Regions from separate parts of the Homo sapiens genome. Here all the other regions are linked to region 1. The links are contacts of gene promoters, found by promoter capture Hi-C in blood cells and fetal thymus (Javierre and others, 2016). All regions are on one chromosome and are shown on one strand. The core of a region is centred on a gene start or on the middle of the fragment in contact, and the rest is flanking DNA. Distances in the headings are between cores, read along the strand shown. Region 1 holds the start of HMGA2-AS2 (HMGA2 antisense RNA 2). Region 2 has its middle 4.6 kb from the start of TBC1D30. Region 3 overlaps TBC1D30 (TBC1 domain family member 30). Region 4 overlaps LINC02389 (long intergenic non-protein coding RNA 2389). Region 5 overlaps LINC02389 (long intergenic non-protein coding RNA 2389).

Region 1 (6,157 bases), core at 2,405-4,904:
TTGACCTAAGAAAACAGGATGCAAGGTAGATTTGTAAAGACTTCTAGGGAAAAAAATTTCATGGATACTTAAAATTACATGAAAGAGTTCTACTTAATTTGATAGCTCATGACACTGCTTACTACTTATTTTAGCAGGTTCAGCATGATACCACCTGGATCTCCAATGACTATTTACATACAGAAGGGAAGAGAACAGCAGGACGTTCTTATACTTTAATACTGGCTCACATTATTAGCAATCCTGGTTAATTTATACTTCAGTTTTGTTTTCTTCAAGATATGCTTCCTCAATAAATATGTTTTTTTAATGTTTCTATGTACAGATTATAGTGAGGACAAGGTGCTCCAGGAATATGGGGCAAGAGACGTAGAGCTATTTTCCAATTTGATGTTGCCAAAAACTTCAGAGACTGTGATTCAGTTATTTAAATAAGATCTAAGAATGCATCAGTCTGCACGTTAGTATAACTTAATTTCCAAGTATTCTAGCATTCTTTGGAGTGTTTTGGGATCATCAAATATTATGAAATTGTTCAATGAAGAAATATGTTTCCAGTCATGAATCATTAAATATAAGTCTGGTGTCAACAGAATATAGACAGTCAGTTGGAAGGACAAAATTTGATGTTTAAGAATTGGTAAAATATAGGATAAGATTAAATATTTGTTTTACATATGAGGCAATGTAATAAAATAGTTTTATTTTTAAAAGAATTTATATTTGCTTTGTACACTTAAGACCTTACATTTTGGGAGGTTTTCATGGTACGATTGCAGACTATATATTCCTAACTTTGAAGGCTACAACACATTTTCAGGAATACTGCAGGACGATAACCAAAAGTAAGAAAATGCGAAATAAGGTTTAGTTTGGGGACATTTTTCAGTACATATTTCACTTTTTATATTAATTGGGAGAAAAAAATTAATGACTATGTCTTACCTGAGCAGGCTTCTTCTGAACAACTTGTTGTGGCTAAGGAGGAAAAGAAAAAGATATATTTTAAAAGAAAATATACATTATAGAAAAAATTAGGTGTACATATTTTAAATACAGATACTTGTCTGCAAAGGAAAGAGGAAAGTATAAAGTTCAACTGGTATATCCAATGTTAAAAGTGTTTATACTTGGCCAGGCATGGTGGCTCACGCTTATAATCCCAGCGCTTTGGGAGGCAGAGGCGGACGGATGGCTTGAGCCCAGGAGTTGTAGACCAGGCTGGGCAACATGGTGAAACCCTCTCTCTACAAACATACAAAAATTAACAGGGTGTGGTGGCGTTGCAACTGTAGTCCCAGCTACTCAGAGGCCTAAATGGAAGGATCACCTGGGCCAAGAAAGGTCAAGGCTGCAGTGAGCCGTGATCATGCCACTGCACTCCAGCCTGGGTGACAGAGCAACACCCTATCTCAAAAAAAACAAAAATGTCTATTCATGATCTCTCTATATTAAGGAAATACAACATAGGTTATCTCAGTGAAAACAATTCCAATTCCCAATTAAATTCTGGCATACAAGCCAACTAGCTTGAAAGAAACTTAACTGTTTGATTCACTTTGTTTTTAGCCTATATATCACAAAACTGAGGAGTGAAGGTACCTAATTTGTTAATATTTTATTTTTTTAAAACACCTTCACTGAGACATAATTTACATACCACATAATTCACTCATTTAAAGTATATTTTAGTATATTCAGAGGGTTGTGCAACCATCACCACAGTCTAATTTAGAACACTTTCATCTCCTCTAAAAGAAATCTTGTACCCATTAGTGGTTACTCCCCACTACCCTCCACGTCCCTAGCCACCTCCCATGCCTAAGTGACCATGAATCTACTTTCTGTCTCTATGAATTTACCTATCCTGACATTTCATGTAAGTGGAATCATACTATATATGTAGAGTCTTTTGTGTGTGGCTTCTTTCACTGGCCTAGGGTTTTCTAGGGTCATCCATGTGGTAGCATCAGCAGTTCATTCCTTTTCATGCTAAATAATTTTCCCTTGTATGGGTATACCACATTTTACCTATCCATTCATTAGTTGGTGGACATCTGGGGTGTTTCCACCCTTTGGCTATTATGAATAATGCTACTATGAACATTTATATACACGTTTTCGTGCGAACATGTTTTCATTCTTGGGTATGTACCTGGGAGTGGAATCGCTGGTTCATATTGTAATTCTTTGTTTCACTTTTTGAGGAGCTGCCAGACAGCTTTCTAAAGCAGCTGTACCATTTTGCAGTCCGTCCCACCAGCAATGAATCTGGAGTTCCAATTGCTCCGTATACATGCCAATGCTTGTTATTGCCTGTCTTTTTGCTTGTAGACATCCAAGTGGATGTGAAGTTAAACATCATTGCTGTTTCAATTTGAACTTCTCTCACAACTAATGATGTTGAGCATCTTTTCATGTGCTTATTGGCCATTTATATGTCTCCTGGGAAGAAATGTTTATTTAAATCCTTTGCCCATTTAAAAAAAATTTGCTATCTCTTCATAACAAAGTTGTAAGAGTTCTTTTAATGTTTTGCATTCAAGTCCCTTATGATTTGCAAATAATTCTGTGAGTTTGTTCAGTTTCTTCGTGGTATCATGGGAAGAATATTGTGTTATATTGTGTTATATCTGTATCTATTGTATGTGTAGAGCAAAACTCTCCTCTTTTGAGTGAAACATCCGAGGGAATGTTTTTCTGCCTGCCTAACTTTCCAATCGAGTATTAGAGAATACTTCTTATTTCTTTGGCATTATAAAAGATGGATTTGAAGCCTGAGCTTTTCGATGGATTATTTGCTTCCAGTCCTCACTCTCATGTCTGAATATAGGCATGTATTATTCTATCTACACATCGCTGAGATTTGTGAGTACACCTGAGGTACTCTGATGTGGATAGCGACATGCTTTCTTGCACCAGTTCTCCCAAATAACAGCACTTAGGATACGTTCACTATTCACTAGCCCCTGTTCATTCATTCTGAGAGCCCCTTCCTCTCAGAGTTCCTCTCAGTGGTACAGTGGTTTATTGCTGGTACATTAAAAATTCCATATAAAAATCATTAGAGCTTTTTTTTTTTAGATGGACAGAATAAAAATAAAATAAATGGCAAGGTACTTTTGCTCAAAGGAAAAGACGTTCTTCCATTTGACTTTAAATCACAGTAAAGATGACGTCATCACAAAAGCCCAAGTTTTGAGATGATGTTTTCTCCAGGGAAAATCGAACCAAGAACGATGAGGACTTCTTGCCTCTTAGGACACAAAAGCGTGGGCTAATAGAGGATTCATTTCCAAAGGGTCATTTGGAAGAAGAGAGCACTCATCTTCCTCCCATTTTTCCCTGTTGATTACACCTGTACACATGTTTACTCCCAAACCGTTTCAAATCCACATACATTCTTGCAGGCTGACTGGTTCCTACTGCTCAGAAATCCCCCTCCTTTTTTGGCAGAGGCTCCCGCATTCATGTGACTCCTGCACACTGCAGCTCAATGAAATCCTCTGAAAGAGCTGCCAGCTCACCCAATTTTCCATGAATTAGGTCCTGACACTTCAATGAGGGGAAAGACAATGTCTGAATCTCTGCCAGCCCTGGCTCCCGGCCTAGTCCGTGTCACGGAACTTCTACCAGCTACCCTCAGACACAGCACTTCATACTTTTCAGACCACCAAACAAACAGACCCTTGAATACTTTCAATGTTGGTTGGGGTTATGGCTGCCAGGATGTTTTCCCAGCCTCTGGCACCCAATGGCTCCAGACTGTGCCGAGAAAGTTTTTGTTGTTGTTATTTTGTTTTGTTTTTATTTTTATGAATGGCTTTGGTAGAAAACGCAGACTGAAGCATAATACTACCACCATTCATAAAAAGGGAAAGGAAACAAACTGCTGTCTGGAAAGCTTTTTGGACGCCAAACAAACTGTAAGTCTCTTATCTTCCTTGGGGCATCTCTCGGCTCAGAACTAAGTGTTGATTCTTAGAAACCAGTTGCTCCTCGGGGTTCTTGGCATTAAAAACACGACTGGCCACTAGAGTTTTATAAGACCTGAATAACATCAATGATACATATTAGTCTTCTGTGTTGTTAACAGTAAATTTTCATGCACCTTAATAAATGAGTAATATTTTGCACATGCATTTCCTATATGAAAGCTAGAATCCTTTATATTTTTAACATCTGCCCCTTTGTTACTGGGAGGGTCCAGGCCTTACTGTTTTCATTTTCTCACAGGGAAACCAAGGCATAGGGAATTTAAATAATCGTCTGAGATCTTTTTCTAAAACCAAAACAACCCGAGTCTACTGATTCTCTTAATCCCTGATATAATGCTCTGAAGAAACCCAGTCTGTTCCTTGAAAAAAAGAAAAAAGAAAAAAGTCAAATCGAGATCCAATCCAGGAGAAGCTGTACTTCCCGGCTTTGATTTTCATCTCCAGATTGTTCAGCAGGGCCTAGTTCTGATTCCTCCAGGTTGCTGATGAAAAGTGAATCGCAGGGGACAAGAGTCAGACCTGCAAAGTCCAGCTGCCTCACCTCACTTGGAGATTCTTCCTTCATTATCAGTTGTGGAGGGGCTGAGTCCCTCTTAAAGGTGTGTACATCATAATGACTGTTCAGTGAACAGATAGCAAAGCCTTTCAAGTTGTTTAGACAAATCTGATGATCCAATTCTAAGTGTGCACATAGGGAGTTTATACAGTTTAGGCACTTGGTCAACTTGGCATGCAAACCCTTCAATGCACTGAGATTTTGAGTTCATTATGTTGAGACTATTGCACCTTTCAAAAAGCTTGTAATGAAAATCCTCATTCCATGGTTGCATTGAAACTTCTAAAATACAATGGGGTGAAAGAGAGCTTCCTCCCAGAACAAAACATCAATAGCAGCATTGACAAAATCACCAAAGGACTTTGAAGAAATTTTTTGGATTAACAGATGTTAAAACGAAACTGTGGCCGGGTGTGGTGGCTCATGCCGGTAATCTCAGCACTTTGAGAGGATTGTTTGAGCTCACGAGTTCGAGACCAGCTTGGGCAACCTAGCAAGACTTCATCTCTATTAAAAATAATTAGCCAGGTATAGTGGCGCATGCCTGTACTCCCAGCTACTCGGGAGACTGAGGTGGGAGGATTGCTTGAGCCTAGGAGGTTATGGCTGCAGTAAGCTATGATCACACCATTGCACTCCCGCCTGGGTGACGGAGCAAGACTCTGCCTCAAAAAAAAAAAAAAGTGGTGAGAATTCAAAGACCCCATGAGTTGAACATACCACGTGAAGCTTAAAAGGGCTCTTTCTAACCACATGGATTTCAGTGAGTAGTTCTCTGCAGTCTAGCCCTTAGAATGGACTAGCTCAGCCACAATTGAAAGTATAATGCTTAAGCAAATAAATATCATTGTTAAAGTATATACAAATAGCTTAGGGTACAACATGCTAAGAAACTGTAGAAGATAAGCAAAAGGAAAGGACATATTTTTGGATTTCTGAGGTCATACAGCAAATGAACATTTCTCCAAATGGAAGAAAAAAAGTTACTGAATTTTTAAAATCCACAGAGTATTTGGATTTTTAAGATTTTGTAGAGAGACACTTGTGTAGGAAATGGTCTGCCATTCCACCTATTTCAGAATAATTAAGAAGTTCCTCAGCCCTCCTAAGAATACAATCTATGGTTCCAGGAAGTCTAGGTATTTTAAAGCTGATACTCAGACAGCTAAGCCACTCCTTCTGGTAGGTATTGAAAGAAAATCCTTGCTAACAAAGGACCCAGACATTAGTAGTTCATTTTAGTACTAATCTAAACATTAAATAAAAAGAGGCTTGAATTGAGCTTACAAACTTAATTTTTAAAAAAAAATTAGGCACAATGTATGGTAAAGCAAACATGATTATTATGTAAAGGGTCTCAAGTTGACCTTAGAAAGAAAGAAGCCCTTCACATGGCTGTCTGTGCAGATGAGTCTCTGGGTTTAATGTAAGCAGCAGAATTTTAATATAATTAGATCCTTTGCTTCTTGCCAGGCAGTAGTAGGTGATTTTGCCCACTTTGTTTTAAAATCATATGATTTTGTTTTAAAATCATATGACCATTGTTCAACCAATAGGTACTTCTGTGCCATAGCATAATCTTTTTTCATGTAGATTGTTTTCC
Region 2 (6,157 bases), core at 1,095-3,594, 1.1 Mb after region 1:
ATCAAATGGAGCCAAGATGTTTTCAGTGTAATAGAAAATATGTGTATAACCAAAGTAATTAAGTTTTCTTTAAAATATTACAATTATATATTTATATGGGAAACACTAGTATGAACTCATTTTTTTTTCTTTTCAAAAAAATACATACATTCATTGAATAGGTTTAGAAGTAAGGACAACTCAGCAGCAATGAACACCCACAGCACCCAGGTTATGGTCTCTAAAAACCATTCCCCACTCAAAGGAACTAAGGCTCCTTTGAGGAGTGACTGATTCCAGGTTTGGGACAGAAAAAGTACAAGATGACCCTGAAACATTTTGATGAGCTCAAAAAGAAAGGAAATGTTTCACAATTAATGGGGTCAAGTCAAAAAGACACAAGAGTCACATAAATAGGCTCCTTCCTATTGGCCAAAGATGAAACAATTTGAACTTGAAAAACAATGGCTGAGCCTGGACAACATGGCAAACCCCCATCTCTACAAAAAAAAAAAAAAAGCTACAAAAATTAGCTGGGCATGATGGCACACACCTGTAGGCCCAGCTACTCAGGAGGCTGAGGTGGGAGGATCACCTGAGGCCAGGGAGGTCAAGGCTGCAATGAGCCATTATCGCACCACTGTACTCCAGCCTGGGTGATGGTGAGACCCTGCCTCAGAAGTAAAAACAAAAACAAAAAGCAATTAATTGCTGGGTCAGGTGCTGTGGCTCAGGTCTGTAATCCCAGTGCTTTGGGAGGCCAAGGTGGGACAATCACTTGAGGCCAGTAGTTCAAGACTAGTCTGGGCAAAATAGCAAGACCCTGTTTCTGCAAAAATAAAATAACTTAGCCAGGTGTGGTAGTGTATGCCTGTAGTCCTAGCTACTTGAGAGGCTGAGGCAGGAGGATCACTTGAACCCAGGAATTCAAGGTTACAGTGAGCTATGATTGGCCACTGCACTCCAGCCTGGGTGAGAGAGCAAGACCCTGTATCAAAAGAAAAAAAAATGGCTGCTATTGATTGAAAAAATATTGAATATTTTTAAATGCCTTCATAAAGATAGCCTAAACAAGCCAGAAAAAGAAGGCATTCCTATGACGCTTCCCAGAATTTGAGGACAATGTCAGAAATGGTGCAACCCTAAGAATGAGCTGTAAAAGAATCTATTAAAAATGAGATGAGCCATCTGCAAAAGTAAAGCAGGCTAATAAAGGACATGCAAGCTATTCAGTTGTAGCTGCCTGGCAGAGGTAAAGATGCTTTCAAAAGGGCAGTACTCTTTGAAAAGGCATCACTTTAGAAAATGAAGTCACTGTTTAAGCTGGTCATGACTAATTGCTTGGCTTAAATTTCCCAACCTTTTGCTGCGAGCTCCGGTACAGAAATTTATCCTCCATCAACCATCAACTTTTTACAGTTTTGGTACATGTTTGTATCCTTCAGCTTTGTATTAATTTTAATAAGACACTCATTGGCTGTTGCAGCCTATCTCAGTTGTACTGAGAGCCATAGGAAGAGGTCTGATGCTTCCCTTTGACCAGTTTTTTAGAGGGCACAGTATACCCTGGGGCTGAAGATGGTGATGAACACCCGAAGTCAAAGAGAGGGAACTGGCAGGAGAGGGAAAATCCAGCAGGACAAGTTGGTAACTGCATGCACAGTCTCGTCTTCCAGACCTCTCATATGCTCAAATCTTAGAGGGTTTTGTGTTCTATTTTAACAAGAGAGGCTATTCATGCTCGGTTTCCATCACTAGGCAAGCCAAGAGGACAAGCAATCAGCTCTGTTCTACAACACTGTCTCTGGAGTGGAGAGGAGGACGTCCTGCCCCTGGGGCTGTGACATATGCCACTCAGACCATCCAACTCCCTTTGGCTCTGACGTCATGCTCACCAAGCAAACTTTGGATTGTCATTTGATTTCCCATATAGACTCTGCTGCAGCACAGAGAATATACTGACCAGTTAATAGCAGTCAATACCCCTGAGTTCACTTACCAGTCAGTAACCTGAAGACACCAAATTTCCAGACTGCCAAAGCTGACATCTAGACTCTAGGCTGTCAACTCACCCATGTGTCATGACTGATAAAAAGACCTCTCTTTAGATTCTTCTTTACTTGTAATACTTTTCTTTACTAGTAGTGACAGAAGCTTGTTTGCTTGCAAAAGGAACATTCAATTTCACCTCTTTTAGATCTATTACGAGGAAAATCTAACTCTGTTTTTAAAATAAAATTTAAGAGTTTCTGCTATGATGGCAATAAACAGCAAAGGAATTAGATAATATTATTTTGTTTACATTGGAGAGGAAAGTCAGGACTGCCAACTTTTATAGCAAACAGATAATTACATGAGCACTAAAACACAATACTCTAAAAGCAGCGATGGCCCAAGCCTAGTATTATGTTGATTGTGTGACTCACAGTTTTTTATTTCATGTCTGGAATATTGTTTTACAAACGTGAAAGATGTCATCTAAAGTCAACTTACAGAGAACTCAAGCCAGCATGGACTTTGCCTGAGAATCTCAGGAGCCAGGCCAATTTACCATTATTCTTTACTAATCAAGCTTTACCAATCAAATAATAGTGAATTCACATTTGGGCAAATTATACACTGCCACAGTCTACAATGGTTATGACTTATGCTGAATTTAGGGGAAGGAAGGCTTAATGAACACTTCACATTGGATGAGATAATGTTATTTGGATTGCTAAAGAAAATGAAGGCTTTGAGGAAATGCCCCGAATGTCACAGAGCTAATAACCTGAGGACATCCCCCACAGATGTGAGCTCCCAGGCTGAAACAAAAAAAAGTATGGACCATTCGGCATACCCTGCATCTTCAGGCCTACATGCTGGGAATGAGGTTTCCTTGAGAGCGAACTTTTCCTTTAATGGGAGAAGGGGGAAGAAGTCAGTAAGAAAAGAAAGCCCAACACAAGGAATAAAAACTATGTCCCAAGGGGCTTCCAGAAGGGGAAGTGGGTCTGAGACCTGTGATTTCCTAATGCTGCTATTTTTTTTGTTTAACAGTAAAGTCTTAAAATAAAAAGGGCCTACGTGCTTATCTTCAGGGACTGACAATTACCAAGAGAAAAGGCCCTGGAAGCCTGCTATGAGGAGAGAGAGACCACAGGGAGCCAGCCTGCTCTGGGGAAGTGGGCCTGGAACTCATCTGTACAGCTGCGGAGTTCCCTGGCAGGTGCTGATATGCACACAAGCTGAGCATCAGAGATCTCATCAGACCACCAGATCTAGTGCTGTCTCCCATTCGGCAGGAGATGGGGACATTTTGCACCTGTGATAATAAAAAGAATGGAGGTCTGGTGGCATAAAAGCCACTCTTCCTCCTCTCTCCTCATCCCACAATTTTTGAACATGTGTAAACAGCTCCTGAATAGTGAAGTGGCGTCTGCTAACCAGACAAGATCTGTGGCCTTTTCTACAAGAAGTTAACACTTTCCTCAGACCTACTAAAGTAGGGACTTAACAAGTAGTTCCTTCAAGGCCGAGTGCAGTGGCTCATGCCTATAATCTCAGCACTTCGGGAGACTGACCAGCCTGGCCAACATGGTGAAACCCCATCTCTACTAAAAATACAAAAATTAGCTGGGTGTGGTGGCGCACACCTGTAATCCCAGCTACTTGGGAGGCTGAGGCAGGAGAATCGCTTGAACCTGGGAGGCGGAGCTTGCAGTGAGCCGAGATCATGCCACTGCACTGGCAGCCTGGGTGACAGAGCGAGACTCCATTTCAAAAAAAAAAAAAAAAAAAAAAAAAAAGTAGTTCCTTCAATTCATTATCCAAGACAGAGTCCACAGACTATGAGCATTGTAACAGTTTCCCCCTCATGACAGAGATGAAGGGGCAGGGCAGCAGGAGGAAATTGAGGGGGAAGAAAAAAACTACAATTATTTGACAGATCACATTACCTACATGGGACATTTTCTATTTATATGATTTTCTTTTCTTAGTCATAAAAATAACTTCTCTATTTAAATACAGGCATCCTTTAAGACAATCAGGTGTAGCTTTTGTATTTTGTTAATTTTTGAGAAAGGACTCTATCAAGCATGGAACAGAGAGGCTTTAAAATTCCAACACCAAATCACACTCAGAATGTCATACAGAAATGTACTTAAAACTCTGCTGCCAGATCCATGTAACCTTAGATGCATAACTAACCAAAGATTTTAGATCTCATCGTATTCTTCTTGTCGTGGTATTTCCTGTTAAGTATTTTCTTGCTTCAAAATGACCGAAACTGACTCACTACTACTTGAGCTAGATTGATATTGACCATATAAAGACACCTTTATATTTCTTTTATTCATTCACTTATTCATGAAAAAAATCATTAATCAGATGCTGTGGGAAAGGCACGGTACTAAGAACTATGAGAGAGAAAATTATGAACACAGTACATACGCTACCCTCAAAGAGTTTACAGTTGGCCAGGTGCAGTGGCTCACGCCTGTAATCCCAGCACTTTGGGAGGCTGAGGCGGGCAGATCACGAGGTCAGGAGATCAAGACCATCCTGGCCAACATGGTGAAACCCCGTCTCTACTAAAAACACAAATACTAGCTGGGCGTGGTGGCACGTGCGTGTAATCCCAGCTACTTGTGAGGCTGAGGCAGGAGAATCACTTGAACCAGGGAGGCAGAGGTTGAGTGAGCCAGGATTGCGCCACTGCATTCCAGCATTCCAGCCTGGCAACAGCACGAGACTGTCTAAAAAAAAAAAAATAGTTTACAGTTTACTGAGTGAGTAGTGACAAGGACACAAGGATTGTGTGAAAGGTCCTTTAAAATACTATGTGAATAATTGGAGAGATACCATTCTTGCTACATCTTAAGTATTATATATGTTGCAATGTTTTCCCAGAGCTCCATTTCATTGAGCTACTAAATTTCACCTGAAAACAGGCCAAGGACAAAGCTCATGTATGCTCTTCTTACAGTTGTGCTATTCAGCTCTTTAGTTCCACATCAGGAATAGAACTGGAAGACTCACACTCATCACTGCAGAAGATGAAATAACTGTTTAACCTGGTCATGATGAACCATTTAGCTGAGATTCCCCAACCTTACACCAAGCCATTCTAAGATTTTTTTTTTTTTTTTTTGGTAGAGTCTCACTCTGTTGCCCAGGCTGGAGTACAGTGGAGGGATGTCGGCTCACTGCAACCTCCACTTCCTGGGTTCAAGTGATTTCTGTGCCTCACCCTCTTGAGTAGCTGGGATTACAGGTGCATGCCACCATGCCCGGCTAATTTTTGTATTTTTAGTAGACATGGGGTTTCACCATGTTAGCCAGGCTGGTCTCGAACTCTTGACCTCAAATGACGCGCCTGCCTTGGCCTCCCAAAGTGCTGGGATTACAGGCATGAGCCATGTGCCAGGCCCAAAGATTCTTTTGACCCTGTTGAGGAGAGGTATGAAAGGAGAGGTTTCTCATATCTATTGAGGTAGATTTAACTTAGAAATGTGTCCCTAGACAGGAGAAGGGTGATGAGTTCGAATGTAATATGCTTGATTTTGGTGATGACAAGAGGGAAGTACCGGAAAAGGAGAGAGATTGGAATCAACAATAATGTTGGTTTGGCAGGTCTGGAAGCCTTCGCTCTCCAGGTTGAGTTCATTCAGAAGAAACAATGTAGAACGTGTGCTCCAATGAGGAGACGTGTGAAGAGACACAGGTCAGGTCATCACCCCTGGTGAGACCCTCCAGGAGGCAACGCAGCAGACAAAGGTTAGAATTCTGATGCCAGTACTTGCTTCCTCTATGTCCTTGAGCAAGTTACTTAATGTCTGGGTTTCAGTTTCCTCATCTTTAGAATAATGATATTTGAGTTACGGTGAGAATTAAATGACATAATGAAAGTCATGGCATAAAGCAGGCGCTCAATACTGTCCTTTGATTAGTGCTTGTTGTTGCTGCACTAGAGGCTAAAATGGCGCTGTGAGCAGTCATCCCAGAGGTCTATCCAGCACAGGACCCAGACTCTGACCCACAGGGTGAGTCTGACTGGCCAGGATACCCCACTGAGGTCTTCGCCGCATACTCCTCTAGTGCCCTCACTCACTTGGTAGAAACTGTGAAATTAGTTTTGTGTTTGCTCCAAAGGACTAAGTTAGAACTGCTAAGTGGGAGCTGTGGTGAGGCAGAT
Region 3 (6,157 bases), core at 1,236-3,735, 1.1 Mb after region 1:
AGGAGAGGTTTGAGTCACTGGAAAGTAAAAAATAATCCTGACTACTGTTCACTGATACAGCCACCATTTTGCCCTTATAATCTGTAATCTTCACAACACCTCTGTTTCAGTTAAGAGTTTTTCAACATGAGTGGTAGAAAATCTGACCAAACTGGCTAAACCCCAAAATTGGAATGTTAGCTGATATAGTAAATAAGCTGAGACAAATTGGCTTTGGGCGTGGCCTGATCCAGAGCTCACAGGCCCTGAAAGCAGCCTGCTTTCTCTCTGTTTCTCAGCTCTGCTTGCTGAGTGTTAACTCTTCTCCAACAAGCTCTCCCCTCATGGTTACAAGAGAGCTGCCAGCAACAACTCCTGGGCTTTTTCCTTCCAGGTTAAATTCTGTTGCATATTCATTTATGGAGTTAATCACATAAGCTATATGTAACCCAATTTTCCCCAAACTTTAGCAACTTAGGACCAAATCCAGTAGAAATGAGTGAGTCTGCTTACGTGAGAGTTCAAAACAAGAGCCTAGGAATTGAGCTTCTTTTCCTGTGGCTCATCCATGGGTCAGACACCATGGTGAGGAGGAGGAAGAGTGCTGAGTGTCTGAGCTCAGGCCCTGTGCTCCCTCCAGGGCCATCACTGTCACCGGAAGTACATGGGCAGAGGTGGAGGAGGGCTGGCTCCCCAAGCAAAATTAAGGCAATGTTGCCAAAGCATAGTAAATTCTGGGCAGCAAAGACGGCAATTGTCCACAACAAACCCTATGAGATTGAAATTATTCTCATTGTACAGATGTGGAAATTGAAGGTCTCAGATGTTAAGTAACTTGCCCCAAATCATATAGTGGCATAGATTGGATTTTACCTCATTAATGTGTGCGATGAGACCAAAAGGATAGGTAGGTATCTGCCAGGCAGACTGAAGCAAGGAGGGTGCTCGAAGCAAGGATTTATGAATACACAGCAGTATGAGGGCATTAGCGGAGTGGGGGGCCTTCAGGGAACTTGGAGTTATGGGCAAAGTTATAAGACAGTGTAGCAAAGGAAAAGCTCAGGCTCTGGTGTCAGATAGATCCAGATGTTATTTGCCAGCTAAATAGGTTGCAGTGAGCAGGTTGCAGTGAGCTGAGATTGCGCTACTGCACTCCAGCCTGGGCGACAGAGCAAGACCCTGTCTCAAAAACAAAAAAAAATTACTAAGGGAGGTTTGTTTGTTTTTTTGCTTTGTTTCACATTTTAATATAGATTTCTGGACTCTCCAGGGATAGAGAGATTCCTAGGTTGAGGTATCAGGAAGTTTCCTCCCAGAAAACTGTTGATCACATAGGGGAATTCATCCACCTCCTTCCAACTGGCCAAGGATGTAACTGCTCACTTCACCTTCATCATCTGTAATACAGTGCCAGTAAGCTTCACAGAGCTCTTGGGAGGAATAAGTGAGATAGCACAAAGGAGCTAGTATAGTGCTGAGCTCAAGGAGCTCCACCAATGGTTGATATTATGGTGCTGGTGAGGATAGGTTGCACGAGGTAATGAATGGGGAAGCTGTGGGAAAATAAGACGGAAAATTAACCATGGGTCAAATCATGCTAAGATAAGGATTTTAGCTTTTACCCTCCAGAAATTGAAGAAAGATTTTGACCAGAGGGATGGCCCAATTAGTTTTTCATTTTAGAAAGATCATTCTGGCAGCAGTGTATAGCCAAGCAGCAGAGAGGTGGGGTGGGCAGGGGGAGGGTCCAAAATGGATGGCAGTGAGACCAGTTAGGAGACCATTACAATACAGTCATGTGCCACACCACGTTTCAGTCAACGATGGACCTCATGTGCTATGGTGGTCCTGTGTGATTGTAATACTGTATTTTTACTGTACCTTTTCTAATATGTTTAGATACACAATTACCATTGTGTTACAACTGACTGCAGTGTTCGGCACAGTAACTTGCTATACAGGTTTGTAGCCTAGGAGCAATAGGCTACACCATATAGCCCAGGTGTGTAGTAGGCTATACCATCTAGGTTTGTGTGAGCACACTCCGTGATATTCGCACAATGTTGAAATTACCTAACAATTTCCCCATCGTTACCCCCGTCATCAGGTGATATATGGCTATAGTTAACTTGTTCAGTGGTTGCTAAACTTAGTTCAACGTTCAAATTACTAAGGAAGGCCAGGCACAGTGGCTCACATCTGTAATCCTAGCACTTTGGGAGGCCAAGGTGGGCGGATTGCTTGAGGCCAGGAGTTCAAGACCAGCCTGGTGGACATGATGAAACCCCATCTCTACTAAAAATAGAAAAATTAGCCGGGAATAGTGGTGCACACTTGGTAGTCCCAGCTACTTGGGAGACTGAGGCAGGAGAATCACTTGAACATGGGAGGCGGAGGCTGCAGTGAGCCAAGATTGTGCCACTGCACCCCAGCCTCGACAACAGAGTGAGACCCTGTCTCAAAAAGAAAACAATTACTAAGGAGGTTTTTTTTTATTTTTTGCTTTGTTTCATGTTTTAATATAGATTCCTGGACTCTCCAGGGATAGGGAGATTCCTAGGCTGAGGTATCAGGAAGTTTCTTCCCAGAAAACTGTTGGTCCCATAGGAGAATTGATCCACCTCCTTCCCAGTGATCAGCATTGCCTAAAGGAAAACTAGAATTGTTATAGCAAGGATGTAAACACTAAGAAACAAGTGAACTTTCTGGTTTTTTAATGTTAAAACAACAACAACTCTTGAAGCCCCTGGGGCACAGGTTGGTGTAGCTAGATAAAGATTGCCTGGGATGGAAGGGATGGAGAGAATGGAATCAAGTGACACTTTGCAGGTCATTTGGTCTCACCAGAGCAAACGACCAGGAAGGAAGCAACCTTCAACGTGATGGTATTTGAAGGCGGGGCCATTGGGAGGTAATTAGGTTTAGATGACACCAGGAGGATGGGACCCTCATGATGAGGTTAGTGCCCTTATCAGAAGAGGAAGAGACCAAAACATACTCCCTTTCTCCATTGTGTGAGGACACAGTGAGAAGGTAGCCATCTGCAAACCAGGAAGAGGGCCCTTCCTCACCAGATACCAAATTTGCAGACACGTTGATCTTTGACTTCTCAGCCTCCAGAACTGTGAGAAAGAAATGTCTGTGTTTAAGCCACCTCAGTCTATGGTACTTTGTTACAGCAGCCTGAACTGAGTCAGACATTCAGCATTGGGAGATGGCCAGCAGGGAACGGCATGAAAGCTGACCCAATACCTACAGTACCAGTCCCCATTCAGGTGAGCACTGGCTGCCTTTGTGGAAGAACCACTCCAACAGTTCTGCCTTCAGCCACTGTCCAGCAAAGGCCTCCCATCCATCACTGTATCCTGGTGGCTCTATGACTGTAGACTTGCTGACTTTACTCTGAGCTGCCTGATGTGGATAACAGATAACTCCCACTTCAATGGTCCAAATACTCACCGGCCTTCACATTTCCATCCTGGGGATGAATCATAATTCATCCAAACATCTCCCCTATTCCCAGATGTTTATATTGTTTTCAGGTTTCCATTAGTACATTTAATACTTCAATGAACATTTGCACATAAAGCTTTTACTGCATAACTTCCAACTCTAAAATATCTGGTATTCTTTGACAAAACCTAGTAATGGCTATTTCTTTGAGTTCAGGATACCAAGTCTCAAGTACTATTCCCTTCTCAAAAGATACAATTAAAGTTCTTTTTATGAAATTCAATACCTGTTGATGAAGAAAACTCTTAGCAAGCAAAGAATAAAAGGGAATTTTCTTAACCTAATAATAGGCACCTACCAGAAACCTCAACATCTTACTTAATGCTTCTTTTAAAAGTCAGGAATGAGGTATGGGTGTTATGAGTGTTCATTATCACTGCTTCTAAAACACTTCTGTTGGCACTTCCACACTAGAAGTCATAGAAAGGAAAAAAAAGGAAAGAGACTGCTGCCTCTTCCAGGATGTAGAGAAGCAGGCATTCTCATTCACTACTTGTATAACTCCAACCTTTAAGAATGGCAATTTGGAGATATATGTATCTTAAAAATGGACATATTTCCTGACCCTTCAACTCCACTTCTATACGCATATCCTAAGAAAATAATTCGGGCTATGTACATACATGTAACAGGATACTGTCTCTACTACTATCTAATCAGAAACCTCCTATTTGACAAGGTACTGGTTATGTGAATTCTGGCATGAACACATTAGGGAATATTAGTCACTAAAAATCATATTGTATAAGAGCATTTACCAGAAAGACAGCTTAAACTACCATGTTCAACATAACTTTTTTGTAGATAATGGCGTGTACACACATACACAAACGTACTGGAAAGATCTATATCTATATCAGAGTATTGATGATTCTTTATGCTCTTTTTGTTTTCCCAATTTTCTAAAACCTGTGACTTTTCTAATTAGGAAAAATAATATATTTTAAATGCTGCAGACAGCAAAGAAAGTGGCTCAGAAACGATGTAAAGAGAGTTTTTATATGGGGAGATGGCAGCAACTATACATCTATTCATACAGAATCCTTAATGCCATGCAGCTAAACTATATTTATTGTTCATTTTATTAAGACAAAAATAAATAGTAGATCTAAAGGTTAATTTTAGGTAAACTCTCTAGGTAAACTCTGTGCTTACTCATATTCAGGAACCAGCGAGTCTGCAAATGCTGGGCAGGTCACAGGCCACCCTGCAACCCAGCGATTAGACTGGGGGAGATAGAGCTTATTGGGCTGTTTCCCTGGTTCATGTGACCAAGGGGGGTCTGGGGTTGGGGGTGAAGGAAGAAGGAAGAAGGGAGAAGGGACTGTCACAACAGTGTTCCATGCTTGCACTCAGAAAATGGCAGAACAGTTACAACAATGAGAATCTTTATGCATATAGCTTTGTGATCAATACAATCCTTCAGAACAACAAGAGACAAACAAAGGAATACAATGTCCCAAACAGCTGCAGTCCACAGGCTGACATTGCTAACTAGATTTAGATCATCTGGAGGCTTTTGTAAGAGGAACTGAGGTGCAGAGGCATCAGAATGAGTTGATTCCCGGCAAAAGGGCTAAGAGGCTACAGACATATCTAAAAATCAAGAAACCACTACTTGTTAAGTACTTCTGGTGTTTGCATACAGTGTCCAATACATAGGGAAGATAGCAAGTCCATACTGGTCTTTGTACATGCTGTGTGGTAGAGGCTACTGCAGGTTTCTTTATTTTCTAAAGTAGGCAAGGCTCATAAATTGACCAATTCACATTGTGATTACTTGGTACAATGCATGCATGTTATTGGTACACAGAGTGCTTTAATAGGAATCTGTTGGATTTTCAAAATTCTGACAAGGCCATTTTTACCTCAGAGGACTATTATCCTTTCACTTATTCATTCATTCAACAGATACGTATCCCAAACTGTGTGTTACCTCATCCATCCCCTTCTCAGGAAGACCAACCCTGGAAATAGGTGAGAGGAGAGTGTTCACAGGGCACAGCATGTGTTGTTGATACTAAGTTTGTGGACAGCAATGGTACAATCCCAAGGACTTGTATAAGTGGCCTCTACCTCATTAACCATTTCCTTGAACCCAGACCATCAGGGAGCTAGTGAGCTGATTCAAGAGAGGAAAGAACAATTCTCCATTCAAGTCAGACATCCCTCAAGGGGAACATGACTATTCTGACTCATTTGAGAAGGGGCAAAGAAAAGGATATGAGGTGGAAACACTATTATCTGTAAAGTTTAGCTGATGGAAGAAAATGGTGTCATTTGCTTAACTTTGGAAAATGCAGTGGGTCTCTGGGCCCTGAGGGTGGTATGCAAAATAAGCCCATCTCTCCACCTACAGCCTTCCCAAAAAACAGGCTGTAGGCGTGGCTGCTTTTTAAGAAGCTGGATGCTAACTTCAGATGGCACAGAATTCAAGACCAAAACTGCAATAACTTATTAGTCATATTTTCCATCTTCAGTTCCTTTGGGGGTAAAAATACCACGAAGAAGATAAAATGGCTTTTCTCACGGTATAGGTCATTGTTGTGTTTTCTGTTCAAAAAAAGCCCACACAACCACATTCTCTATTATAAAAAGTAGTACCTCTCATAGTAAAAGCCTGCTCTACAGTTACAGTTTTCGTTTCAGAATTAACAATCCATTA
Region 4 (6,157 bases), core at 1,230-3,729, 1.0 Mb after region 1:
TGAAATTAAAACCGAATCAAGGGCCAAACATGGTGGCTCACACCTATAATCCCAGCCCTTAGGGAGACTGAGGTAGGTGGATTTCTTGAGCCAGGAGTTCCAGGTTGCAATGAGCTAGACCCTGTCTCAAACAACAACAACAAACAAACAAAAAAAAACTAGTCAGAATGTACTGGGCTTCTACTACATGCAAAAGATAAATAAGGGTCACTTTCCTGCCTCGGGTAAATACGCAGCTATATGCAGTGCTATGAGAACACACACAAGCCGCAGAAGGAACCATGACGGGGCCTGGGAAGACTGTGCAAGGCTTTGGAGAGAGGTCATATTTCAGTCAGACCTTGAAGGATGAGCAAAGTAGGGATGGTCATTCTAAGTCCACCACCCTACCTCTTGAGTATCAAATTTACTTCTTATTAAAAAGAAGAAAAAAAAACTTCCTTCCCAGCATATTGTTTGTCTATCTGTCTAGTATGAATATAGTTACAATAATTTTCTCTGTAACACACAAGCATTTAATGGTTGTGTTTGTATGATCAATGAAACAGTTAATCAATGTATATGACCAGCATTAAGCTGATTTTGCTAACAACCTATTAAAATGGAGAAAATAGAAGATCAAAATAAATAGTTAATAGAAAATCAATTCCAACCAGACTCCCAGTAAGGAAATGTCCTGCTTAACTAAACATGTGGCCAGCACTGAGCTAGGCACGGAAACATTCTTATAAAAGTCCCCAGCCCCTGCCCTCTTCCACACTCACACCCTGACATGTATCCAGCCTTTGTCATCATCTGCACGGGGCTGCTGCCTGTCAACTGAGTGTTGATATGTTCTCTTTGGTGACATTGTGAAATATTGACTCACATCTGATGTTCCCACTCACTTTCTAGATTCTTGGCTCCAAGACAGAACAGTCAATTGAATTCCAGATGGCAGGATGCACGTATCATCAAACGGAGGAACAATCCTCTGTTGAGAGATGATGTTTCTTTCTCCACAGGTGACCTAGGAAAGCAAGGGCATGCTTGTGTGTGGACACTCACTCATACCATGTGTGCTCGGGTTGTGTGCACAGGCTACCAAAAGCCCTTTGCATACTAAGTTCTTGGTTTATCCACAGAGCATTTTGCTGACCTCTCTCCAGAAAAACAAACAAACAAACAAACAAACAAACAAAAAAACAGCTCCTTAACCTTATTAAACCAAACACTTAAATTCTGAAGCGGCCCAGGAGAATAAGAAGAAACCACTAGAACCCACATTGCTGCACTCTCCTCAGAATGTGATATGTTGGTTAAAACACACACACACACTGACACATATAATGAAAGTGGCCAAAAAAAAATCAAGATATGCTAGAAGAGAATTATCTTGAATTAAGGGAGGACCAAAGTCTACAGATAGAAAGAGCTCAAGAAGTATCAGGAAAGCACAACAATGCAAATGACTCAACATCAGAGGACTGTGCACTTAAAAATGGTTAAAATGGGCCTAGTGCAGTGGCTCACACCTGTAATCCCAACATTTTGGGAGGCCGAGGCAAGAGGATTGTTTGAGCTCAGGAGTTTGAGACCAGCCTGGGCAACACAGTGAGACCTCATCTCTACAAAAATCAAAATATTAGCCAGGCATGGTGGCATGTGCCTGTAGTCCCAGCAACTTGAGAGGCTGAAGCAGGAGGATTGTTTGAGCCCAGGAGTTCAAGATTGCAGTGAGCTATGATCACATCACTGCACTCCAGCCCGGGTTGACGGAGCTAGAACCTGTTTTTTAAAAAAAGCCCTTGGCAAGATGCACTAGTAAGACTCTCTCCACTTTAACTAGTAAGACTCTCTCCACTTTATCCTATACCCTACCACCAGAGATGGAGAAAGAGTTCTTCTAAGGTATAAGGCAGACTCTTAATGCCACACAATACTACAGGATATGTGCAGCAGTTATCCCCACCCAATTCCTGGTCCTTTTTCATCCTAAAGCCTCATCTCGCCCCTGAACTTTGCCTTGTCCTTTAACTCCATCCACCTCTCATTACTTTCTTTAGATGAGCCCAAGGATGATGCTGATTTGTAGGTATCAGGGACAGGGGTGAGTCTGAGGGATGGAGTGGGGTGAAGAAAATAGGGCAGTGACATTCCAGAAGTCTCTAGAGGAGGGATAGGAATCCAGGTGGGGATCTAGTTGAAACTGAGGAACTTGTATTATATATTTATTTGGGGTAACACTGGGGTGGGTTGACGGAGATTAGGGAACTTGTGATAAAGTTGCCTACCAAGCACTTTTTTTTTACTTTGAATATTTATTTGAAATGGTGTGGGTTAGGGTTGATGAAACTGTGGAGAGTTTTATTTTATCAAGCTGGTTCAGCCCATGTTAGCTTCCTGTTGACTCCTAGGTCTCTCATCACTCAGTTCAGGCATTACTTTATTTAGTTAGTTAGTTAGCTAGTTAGTTAGTTAGTTGGTTATTTTGACATGGAGTCTCACTCTGTCTCCCAGGCTGGAGTGCAGTGGCATGATCTCTGCTCACTGCAACCTCCAGGCACTACTTTCTCTTGAGGTTTTTCCCTGACTCCAAGTCTCAATCACATGCCCCTCTTCTGGACTCTTATAACACTTCAGGTATACCTTGACCTAAGAACTTATTACACTCTACTCTTGCTTTCCTTGTCTACCCTGACACTAGACTGCAGCTCCTTCAGGACAAGGAATGTCTCTCATTCTGCATCCTGAGCACCAAGCACTGTGTCTGGTAAGTGACAAGGGCCAATAGTTCTTTTTAAACAAATAATAGGATAAATGAGCAAAGAATTCATACTATAGGTAATTCACCTCAAAAACATGAGAGGTTACAGAGCGATAATTAGTCTGCTATTCCACACCTCCAGAAACCCTGATGATTAAACCAGAAGAAACAGACTTTTTATATAGTAAGTTACAGCAAACCCACATGTGAATCAGTCATTGAATGAATTAATGAAGTGACAAGTTAATCTAAAACAAGTCTCGGGCAAAATATGAGACAAAACAAAGCAAAATACATGACTTTAACTCCCTAGAGCTGAAGGCACATACCAGGCAGCAACATCATAGTCTTGAAATCTAAGATTCAACTGGGATTTGCCAGTCCCAGTTGAATAATAGTGGTTCCAAGAACAGACTGTGGAAGCATCTGATGTTCCTCTCCATGGACCCCAGAATATCCTTTTCTTTCTCATGTTTACTCCAGGGCAGCAACAGAGCCACTGTTACTTTTTGTCACTTGTAACCAAATTGAATTCTAATGTATACAGCTTCCTAAAGGAAATTAGTCTTGAACAATGAGCAGGAGTTAACCAAGCACAGAAAAGTAGATAGGGTGTTATAGAAGAGTAAACGAGTTAAGCACAGGTTTGGAGGTGTGACTCTGCACGGTAAGTACATGGAACCATGGATGTGGAGAAGTCCAATATCTGCTGCAAGGCACAGAGAAGCTGGACACAAGCCTGGAAAACATGGGGAAAACTAAGTCTGAGATAACATTGTATGCCACACAAGGGAGCCTGAATTTTATCTTGATTAGGATGGGAAGCCATACACAGTTTTTAGACAGGGAATGATAGACTCAGATTTGCATTTAGAAAGATCACTCTGGAAATAAAGAAGGGAGTGAAAGGCAGCAAGCTGGAGTCAGGTAAGTGACTGATGCAATAGTCCAGACAGAGAGGGCCCTGAAACTTACCTGCACCCTTGGAGCCACATAAAATAAAAATAAGCCTACCCCTAGAAGTCAGAGACAGCAAGGAATCTTGTACTGAGTTATTGTGAAGAATTCATATGCCAGCTCCAGTCCTTTATTTGGACTGAAAAGGATAGAATATAAAGAATAGTGTGTCTTAGAACTGTCTGGTCCAGTTGGCCCCAGCCATCAGACCTGCCTCTGACTCATGAAGCCATCACCCAACAAAAATAATTAATTTCTAGACCTTTTTCTCATTCTAGACCTGTGTCCAGAATCATTTCAACCTGGATCTGCCTTGTCCTTGGTTCTAAGGCCCTTGATGTGGTCTGACAGTCAGCACTCTAAACTCACGCCCAATTCTCTGATACTTACCAGCCATTGCCCCATTTCTTTGTTTTCCTTTGCAAAAAAACCTCTCCCAAAACTTTTAAGTACTAGTTGTCTGCAATCTCCCTTTCCTTCCATTCTGTCTTAAGTCCACCCAACACATACACTGAAACTGTTTTTCTCAAGGTCATAAATGACACGCATGATGATAAATACAATGAATAATTCTCAGTTATCAACCAATTTGACTTAGCAGCATTTTTTTTTCTGGAGACATCATCTCACTATGGTGCCCAGGTTGGCCTTGAACTCTGGGGCTCAAGTGATCCTCCTGCCTCAGCCTCCCCAGTAGCTGGGACTACAGGCACCTGATGCCATGCCCCTAATCAGCAGCATTTGACACACCTCCTTGTTGATAAACTTTCTTCACTTGCCTTCCAGGATCCACAACTTTTAGTTTCCTCGTATTTGCCTGATTACTCTTCTGTCTCCTTTGCTGGTTCCTCCTCTTCCTCTCTACCTCTTAAATATTGCAGTGTCCCAGGCTCTGTCCTTGGTCTTCTCCATCTACACAAGGGTTTCTCAACTTTGACACTACTGACTTTTTGGCCAGATAATTCTTTGTTGTTGGGGGCTGTGCTAGGCATTATAGGATAGATATATATATAGTAGCATCCCTGCTCTCTGTCCACTAGGTACCAGTAGCAACCACTCCCCACAACCAAAAATGTTTCTAGACATTGTCAAATATCCCCAGGGAAGCACCTCTGGTTGAGAACAAATGCTCTAGGTCTATAGGAAATTCTCTTTACTATAAGTGTCTTAGACCTTAGTGATCTCTTCCAGTCTGAGGTTTTAAATACTATCTATATGCCAATGATTCCCAGTTTTACATATCCAGTCCAGACCTCTCTCTTGAACTTCAAATGGACTAAAATGTTCAAATTCCCATTCAAACATTTTGCTTCAATATCTAGTGGACATCCCAAACTCCCTATGCAATCTTCCCCATCTCAGCTGAAGGTAACACCACTCTTCCAGTTGCTCAAACTAAAAGTCTTGGAATAATCCCTGACTTCTCTTTCTTTCACATCCTGCATCCTGCCAAGAAATCCTATTAACTCTACCTTGAAAACACATCCAGAATCTGACCACTTCTTACCACTACTACTACCCTGATCCAAGTCATCATGATCTCACACCTGGGTCGTCGCAGCAGCCTCCTAACTGGTCTCTCCTGATATATCTTTGTGCCTCCACTGTCTACTCTCTGCAAAACAACCAGAATGAGCCCTTTAAAATATGCCAGATAATTCCACTTCTTGCTCAAAACACTCTGTCTTCTTAACTTATTCAGAGAAAACTCAAACTCCACACAAGTCTCTGCAAGTCTCTTGTCACTTTTCTGACCTAATAAACTGCTACGCTTAGTTATCATCAACTGAGATGAAAAAGCTGAGGGGGGCAGGTTTGGAAGGAAGATCAGGAGTTCATATTTGGATGTTCTTGTGTCTGGTACTCAGAGGGAGTTCTGGACTAAAGGCACACATTTGGGACTTGTTGGCATAAAGACGGTATTTAAAGACATGAACCTGGAACAGGTCACCAAGGGAGTAGATATAGATAAAGAGGGGCTAGGGCTGAGCCCCAAGGCACCTCAGTATTAAATGGATGGGAAGAAAAGGAGAAACCAGTGATAAAAACTTCAGCTGAATTAAACGTAATGGAGTTTAACTGAGCAATGAATGATTCGTCAACCAGGCAGCCTTCTGAGCCAGAATAGGCTCTGAGATTCCAGCGCAGCCACATGGGGGAAGAAGATTCATGGACAGAAAAAGGAAAGTGATGAATAGGTAATGGAAGTGAGGTACAAAAACAGCTGGATTGGTTACGGCTCAGCATTTGCCTTATTTGAACATGGTTTGAACAGTTGGCTACATTTGATTGGCCAAGACTCGGTGATTGGCACAACTGTAGGATATGGGTCTGTTTACACCTCCACTTGTTATGGTTCACAAGGTACAGAGAAACCTTTAGACCAAACTTAAAATATGTAAGGAGGCAGCTTTAGGCTAAATTTGATATAATACCAGCAAAGGAGATTGAAAA
Region 5 (6,157 bases), core at 1,601-4,100, 1.0 Mb after region 1:
GAATGCCAGTGAGCAGGAGTGGGCAATTTGACATGTATCTTCCAGATGATTGCCAAATCAGAGCCCTGACATAAGCCTTCTGTTTTCACCCTTCCATCCCTGACGGGCCAGCCCTGTGGCCTTCCTTGCTCAGAGAAATTTTATTTTCTGAAAGAAAAGAAATGCTAGGCCTTTCTTATGGAAGAAGTAAGGGATCATGGGGTAAGCAACTGACTGAAAAAAAAGAGGTTAAGGACTACTTCCCTGGGGGCACGAGATTCAAGTATGGAAGGGCTCAAGGTCATCCGAAAGTAACTTTGCCTGCGAGTGTTCAAAATGGGTCCTGATGTGCCTTTGCCTGCGAGTATTCACAAAGGGTCCTAATATAGAAGGGGTTCCTGGTTTGCTTTTCCAAAGTATTCTAGTAAATCAAACCATGAGTGTGAATCTGTTACAGGTAGTTAGGCATGAGCAGGCAGGAGAGGGCTCTTCCCCCTACCCACTAGAAATGCAGGATGATGGTTTGGCAATCATCACATTGCCTCTCTAAAAATGATAATTCGGCAGCCAGGGAGAGACAAGCTCTTGATGGTCCACACCTGTTAACACTAAAAGTGTTAACTGAATGCAGACCCCAGGGAGAAGCAGCTTCTTGGGCATGCGTGTTAAGAGACAAAATGGCGAAGGATGACGTTCCAGGGGCAGAGGCCACTTGAAAAAGCCTCAGATGGGCATGCGTGTAACTCCCAAAACAGGCTGTTCGTGCTCAATTGCAAAGGGTAGGGAAAGCACTGCCCAGGCAAGCCCACCCTAAGGAAAGAATCATGGGAAAGAGGGAACCTATAAAGTCATAGGATCAAGGTTAAAGGCCTTTTGTTTTTTTGTTTTTTTGTTTTTTTTGGCTGCCTTCTTTTTCTCTCTTTGACTTTCAGGAGCCCACTTGGATCTCTTCCAAGGGATCTTTCTTTCTTCTCTTATTAAGGCAGGTGAGGATGTCATTTGATATGAGCTTTTCATTCATTTGTTAATTTCACAAATATAGAGCTCCTCTCCACACAAGATAGCATGGTGAGATGAGTAAAACAGAGTCCTTGACTTAAAGATACATACAAATCCCCATACCTTTTCGTTCACATTCTCAGGATAATTGCTTAGTTTCCTCAATGTGAGTGACTAATTACAGAAAGGGACATGAGGCCAGGCACCATGGCTCACACCTATAATCCCAGCACTTTGGGAGGCCAAGGTGGGTGGATCACCTAAGGTCAGGAGTTCGAGACCAGACTGGGCAACATGGTGAAACCCGGCTCTACTAAAAATACAATAGCCAGGTGAGGTGGTGGGCACCTGTAATCCTAGCTACTTGGGAGGCTGAGGCACTAGAATTGTTTAAACCCAGGTGGCAGGGGTTGTGGTGAGCTGAGATCACGCCACTGCCCTCCAGCCTGGGCAACAAAGTGAAACTCCATCTCAGAGAAAAAAAAAAGGAAAGAAAACAACATAATAATCTGACATTTTCTGTTCACAGAGAATCATGGGAACCATTATAACAAAGAAGTCAAGAGTGTTGGTGTGGAGTGGACCTTGGTTTGAATACTCAGCTCTGCCACTTACTAGCTGTAGGCTCATATGCAAGTTACTATCCTCATCTGTTAAAAAGGAATAATATCTAATGTTATATAAAATGTAAAAGTTATTTCACACAATGCCATTCACATAGTAAATGTTCAATAAAAGCAAAAACCTCAGGACATATATAAGTGGCAATGTGAAATTAATACAGCAGAAGCTCAGTTCACACAGATGTTAATCCTTAAACAAGCCTTGCATTGTATGAGTATCCCACAAAAGGAGTAAGGGAAGAAGATCTTACATCACTGGAGTGAGTGACTACCATGGACCAGCCACCGTTACTCACTTTACTTCATTTAACCCGCACAATAGCCTCATGAGGTAGATATCATCACCATTTTGCAGATGAGAAAGCTGAAGCTAAGCAAAGTTGACCTGACCAAAATCACATAGCAATTAAGATAGGAGTCCAGCTTCGTCTCATTCCAATATGAGTGCGTTTTCCTCTTTTCCATTGGCTCTCAAAGTTTGGTCTTAAAGGAGCTGTATCAGCATCACCTGGGAACTTATTAGAACTGCACCTTCTCAGCCCTACCCCAAACCCACTGGGTCAGAAACTCTGGGGTTGGGGCCTAGCCATCTGTGTTTCACACTCAGACTGACACACGATCATTTCTGATAACCACTGCTCTATGACATGCGTTTCCTCTTCAGTTAGGATCCGACTCCTTATTTTGTATTTAACAAGGAGTATGAAACAAAGCCCGGGCTCTGAATTTGTATTCCTCAGCAATAATGTGTCAAGTAATCTTAAACAAGCAAACCCCTGGCCCATTCCAGCCCATAGTGCATGTGCGGAAGAAAAGTAGAAATTAATATTGGGGCCATTTTGCATATTCCTAAACCCGTAAGCTAGTCTCTTTGGAGAACGTTAAAGCTTTGCTATTGTCACAACTAGTGGTGTCACTTCCCACCATTCCTGTTAGTCTTGGGCAACATGATATATTTATTAAGCTCCTACTATGTGCCACTGGGAGAAGAGTGAAGAACAAAATCAGCAAAGCCTCCCCTCAGGGAGCATATGATCCGATCTTTCCCAGCAGTGGACTCTTGTTGGTCATTCCTAGAATCCCAAGACCCTTCTCTTTTATCGTTCCCCCCACCAAACCTATCTACATTTAGAATGGGAATAACTATAACTTCTAGGCAAGTAACTGTAACTCCTAACTGAGATCATTTACTCAAACTCCCCTGGATCACACATAGCCTGTCCACCCAATGTAGTATAGCTGACTCCTCTGGTCTGAATGTGCCCCCTCAAAATTCACATATTGAAACCCTGACCCCCAAGTCGACAGTAATTAGGAGGTGAGGATTTGGGGAGGTGACTGTGACTCATGCCCTTATAAAAGACGCCCCAGAGAGACCCCTCACCCCTTCCACCGTGTGAGCACACAGCAAAAACTACCTTGTATGAACCAGAAAGTAAGTCCTCACTAGACAATGAATCTGCCAGCACCTTGATCTTCCACTCCCCAGCCTCCAGAACTGTGGGAAACAAGTTTATAAACCACCCAGTTTATGATACGTTGTTATAGCAGCCTGAACAGACTAAGACACTGACCAAATGATAAGGATCAGAGAAAAGCCAATCAAGCTTGGAGAAACCATTTTCCAAGCACCCACTGTACCAGCAGCCCAAGAATCATTCAGAATTGTCCTGGCCATTACGCTGTGTGCCCATGGATCTCAGCATGAGTCTGAAGAATCAGCTCTGCCAAGCCAGGACCCAGACCCTCCAGCATTTTAGTCCAATGTTCTCTGCACTCCCCGGGTGATGGTGTGATGCTGGAGTTACCACAAGTCATCAGCCTCACTAGCCAAAGGGCAAATACCCTGAATTTGCTCTTTATTGACTATATGAGAACCACATTGCTTCACACTGAAAACAAGTACTATTTGAAGTATAAAAGGACTCCTAATCTATATTCCACCTGCCGCTAGCTCTGTCTTTGAAAGCCATTGCCTTCACTGAATGATTCCAGCTGGTGCTCTCCTCTGTGCTGGCTTTTATGGGCTATAAGGATGGATACACAAGGTGTAGGTCAGTTTTTTAGGGAATGTAGAAGCCTTGCCCTCTCAACTCAACACATGCTTCTCTTTTCTTCTTCCCTCTATCCTGGAATTAATGGGGATAAATGTTGCTAAAGCATCTAGTTAAATGTTCTTAGATAATTCTGGTCTGTACACTGATTGACCAGAAAACAGAAATGACTTCATCTGAAAGAAAACTAATATATGTGGGAAAGAGGAGTGATCGGCTGTAATATTTATGTTTTCCTGTCTCTTGTGTGAATTCACAGGCAACTTCCAGAATAAAATCCTCACATGTTTTTTCCATCAATTGAAGAATTTGAATCTCTCTTATTGGCAGAGTTTTTCCTTCTTTAAATTTCCCTCCCACCTCACAATGTGCCTGCTACAAGTTTGCGTCATAAATCCCAGTATAAAATTCCCTGTTGCTTAACTTGCCCATAAATGTGGAGCATGTAGTCATGTTATATGATTCCTGGCCTGAACATAAATTTCCTGTAGTCTAGAGGTGCCTTAAGAAGGAGCTAATATGTTCACCTGCTTGTTTTCCAGGCAATAAACCCACAACAGGTGAAATGGGGAGGAAATTTAAATAAGATCAAAAGGTAGGTTCAAAAGAATGGACAAAGCCATCTGGAATGCCTCAGTGCTGCCAATCTCAAATATAAGACCCGGTGGAATTTTAAGTAGAATTTCTAGTTTTCCCTTCTTTTCGACCAACTAAATGTCAAAAAACAAGAGAAAACTAGAAATCCCACTTAAAATTCCACTGGGAATTTAAGGAGGATGCTCATTTTTTTCCAGAGGTTGGGTAAGATAAGAGCAAGTAAAAAGTACTGATTTCTTCTAAGTTCATTGTCAACAACCTCTTTCTCCTCTTCATCCCCCTGGCCTCCACTCTTGTTGCTTGAATATGTGTTTAGCTTCCTCTAGCATTTTACCTTGCAGAATGAGCTTGGGGCATTTGGAAGTTATTTGCTGAGTTATACGGGGAGATTTTTACTTTGGATTTCAAATTACTCTGCAGATGACAACCCTGTATTGCTGAAAAGAATTTTCTGAACAAGAAATAACTGTTCCACTATGCAGCCATAAAAATTAAAAATTAAAAAGTTAAAAAGAAATAACTATTCCAGTAGGAGTGTAAATTGATACAGCTTTTAATATAATTTGGTAATATGTATCAAAATCCTTGAAATTATGACCATTACTTGACCCAGTAATTCCACTTATATGAATTCATCCTTAAAAATTATTGTACAAAGACAAGAACAGATATGAACAAGGATATTCATTGCAGCATTGTTTAGTACAGGAGAAGTTTGAAACAACCTAAATGTCTAGAAATAAATGATTGGTTAAATAAATTCTGCTATATCCATAATGAGAACTATTATGCAGTCATTAAAATGATGACAGAGATTACAGGTTTGGATAAGGATGAATGTCTATCTTATGGTAGCCATTTATGCCTCGTCTTCCACTATTGGAATGCTAAGCATGTGGGAGTTATTTATATCCTACTGCTCAAGTTCATCACCAAGGTCTGATTGCAAAAATTCAAAAATTTGCAACCTCAGGCATAAACGGGTTAATAAGTGAAAAAAGCAAGCTACTAAACAAGTTGTATAGCTATTATCTCTCTAAAAATTATATATATATATGCACATAAGATTTATGAAATGTCTCCTATGAAATTCTTTTTAACAGACCACACACTGAAGTTCAATAAGTACACATTAAGAATTTGTCATGCTAAAATACGATTATGTTTTGTCCTACAATTATAGTGAAGTAAAATCCACAAGTATTTCCCATTAAGATTTGAGCCTTCAAAGCCTCTCCCATGTTGGGCTCATTATGCTCATGCTATTTTTGGGTCAACATGACATGCCTCCCTCTTCCATTTTGAATGTTTTTCATTGAAAAAAAAAAAACAGGTTTTATTTGTGGCAGTTTTTAGGAACTCTGACATAAATAAGAACACACACATCCAGGACAGCTATTTACACACAGTGTCAGAAAATATTTCATTGTAGTGGCTTCTCTTGAATAGAGGCCAAAGCCTGAGTTGGAATTGGCTAAAAAGAAAAAAAAAGCCTTACAAGTAAGTTTCTCTAAAACAGATTTAGTACACATTTCTGTGCAAGAGCTTTAAACACATTTCCATTCTAATTAAAAATATAATTGGCAACATACATCTTTAAGCTATGAATATTTTGGTAGAGGAAATTCAAAGGCCAGCAATTATATACATCTCTAAAAAGCTTAATTATTCACTAAAGGAGAAAAACAAGTTTTTAAACAAACAAAAAGAGCTGTAATATTAACTGTTGACATTTAATTCTCCAACTTTGGTGACTTACCATTATAAATGATGCTGTAAGCTGAAATCAAAGACAAAACTCCTACTCTAGCCACTAGTGTAACCCTCAACTCTGGCTGCCCCACCTTGTCCAGTGACCACTCACTAGTGATTCTGACTTTATATGTCTGGAGTGGAACCCACACA

The links. Contacts are between HindIII fragments. The CHiCAGO score rates a contact against its expected background, and 5 or more counts as called.
Region 2: a fragment that was not itself captured here is called in contact with the fragment with the promoter of HMGA2-AS2 in region 1 in 1 of 17 cell types (naive CD8 T cells); the score reaches 5.7 in naive CD8 T cells.
Region 3: a fragment that was not itself captured here is called in contact with the fragment with the promoter of HMGA2-AS2 in region 1 in 8 of 17 cell types (total CD4 T cells, non-activated CD4 T cells, naive CD8 T cells and 5 more); the score reaches 11.3 in total CD4 T cells.
Region 4: a contact is called between a fragment that was not itself captured here and the fragment with the promoter of HMGA2-AS2 in region 1, in 7 of 17 cell types (activated CD4 T cells, total CD4 T cells, total B cells and 4 more). The highest score is 14.3, in activated CD4 T cells.
Region 5: a contact is called between a fragment that was not itself captured here and the fragment with the promoter of HMGA2-AS2 in region 1, in 2 of 17 cell types (non-activated CD4 T cells and total CD4 T cells). The highest score is 5.4, in non-activated CD4 T cells.

Annotation. Positions count from the first base shown.
Region 1 is chr12:65,946,204-65,952,360 of GRCh38, reverse strand. HMGA2-AS2 (HMGA2 antisense RNA 2) reads left to right here and starts at 3,654. Exons shown (of 4, transcript NR_199060.1): 1 at 3,654-3,926; 2 at 4,237-4,597. It overlaps HMGA2 (high mobility group AT-hook 2), which reads right to left. Exons shown (of 5, transcript NM_003483.6): 4 at 946-978. The HindIII fragment of the contact is 7,270 bases long and covers 1-3,906 here.
Region 2 is chr12:64,817,017-64,823,173 of GRCh38, reverse strand. It overlaps a transcript of TBC1D30 not described here. Among named protein-coding and RNA genes, the nearest start is that of TBC1D30, 4.6 kb to the left of the region's middle. The HindIII fragment of the contact is 418 bases long and covers 2,136-2,553 here.
Region 3 is chr12:64,877,340-64,883,496 of GRCh38, reverse strand. TBC1D30 (TBC1 domain family member 30) reads right to left here. Exons shown (of 12, transcript NM_015279.2): 12 at 2,464-6,157. Among named protein-coding and RNA genes, the nearest start is that of LINC02389, 3.4 kb to the left of the region's middle. The HindIII fragment of the contact is 2,171 bases long and covers 1,400-3,570 here.
Region 4 is chr12:64,895,429-64,901,585 of GRCh38, reverse strand. It overlaps LINC02389 (long intergenic non-protein coding RNA 2389), which reads right to left. Exons shown (of 3, transcript NR_033988.1): 2 at 888-1,009. Among named protein-coding and RNA genes, the nearest start is that of LINC02389, 15 kb to the right of the region's middle. The HindIII fragment of the contact is 7,998 bases long and covers 1-6,157 here.
Region 5 is chr12:64,916,421-64,922,577 of GRCh38, reverse strand. The region is part of intron 2 of LINC02389 (long intergenic non-protein coding RNA 2389); the gene reads right to left. It overlaps LINC02231 (long intergenic non-protein coding RNA 2231), which reads left to right. Exons shown (of 4, transcript NR_146276.1): 4 at 1,508-1,733. Among named protein-coding and RNA genes, the nearest start is that of LINC02389, 36 kb to the right of the region's middle. The HindIII fragment of the contact is 720 bases long and covers 2,491-3,210 here.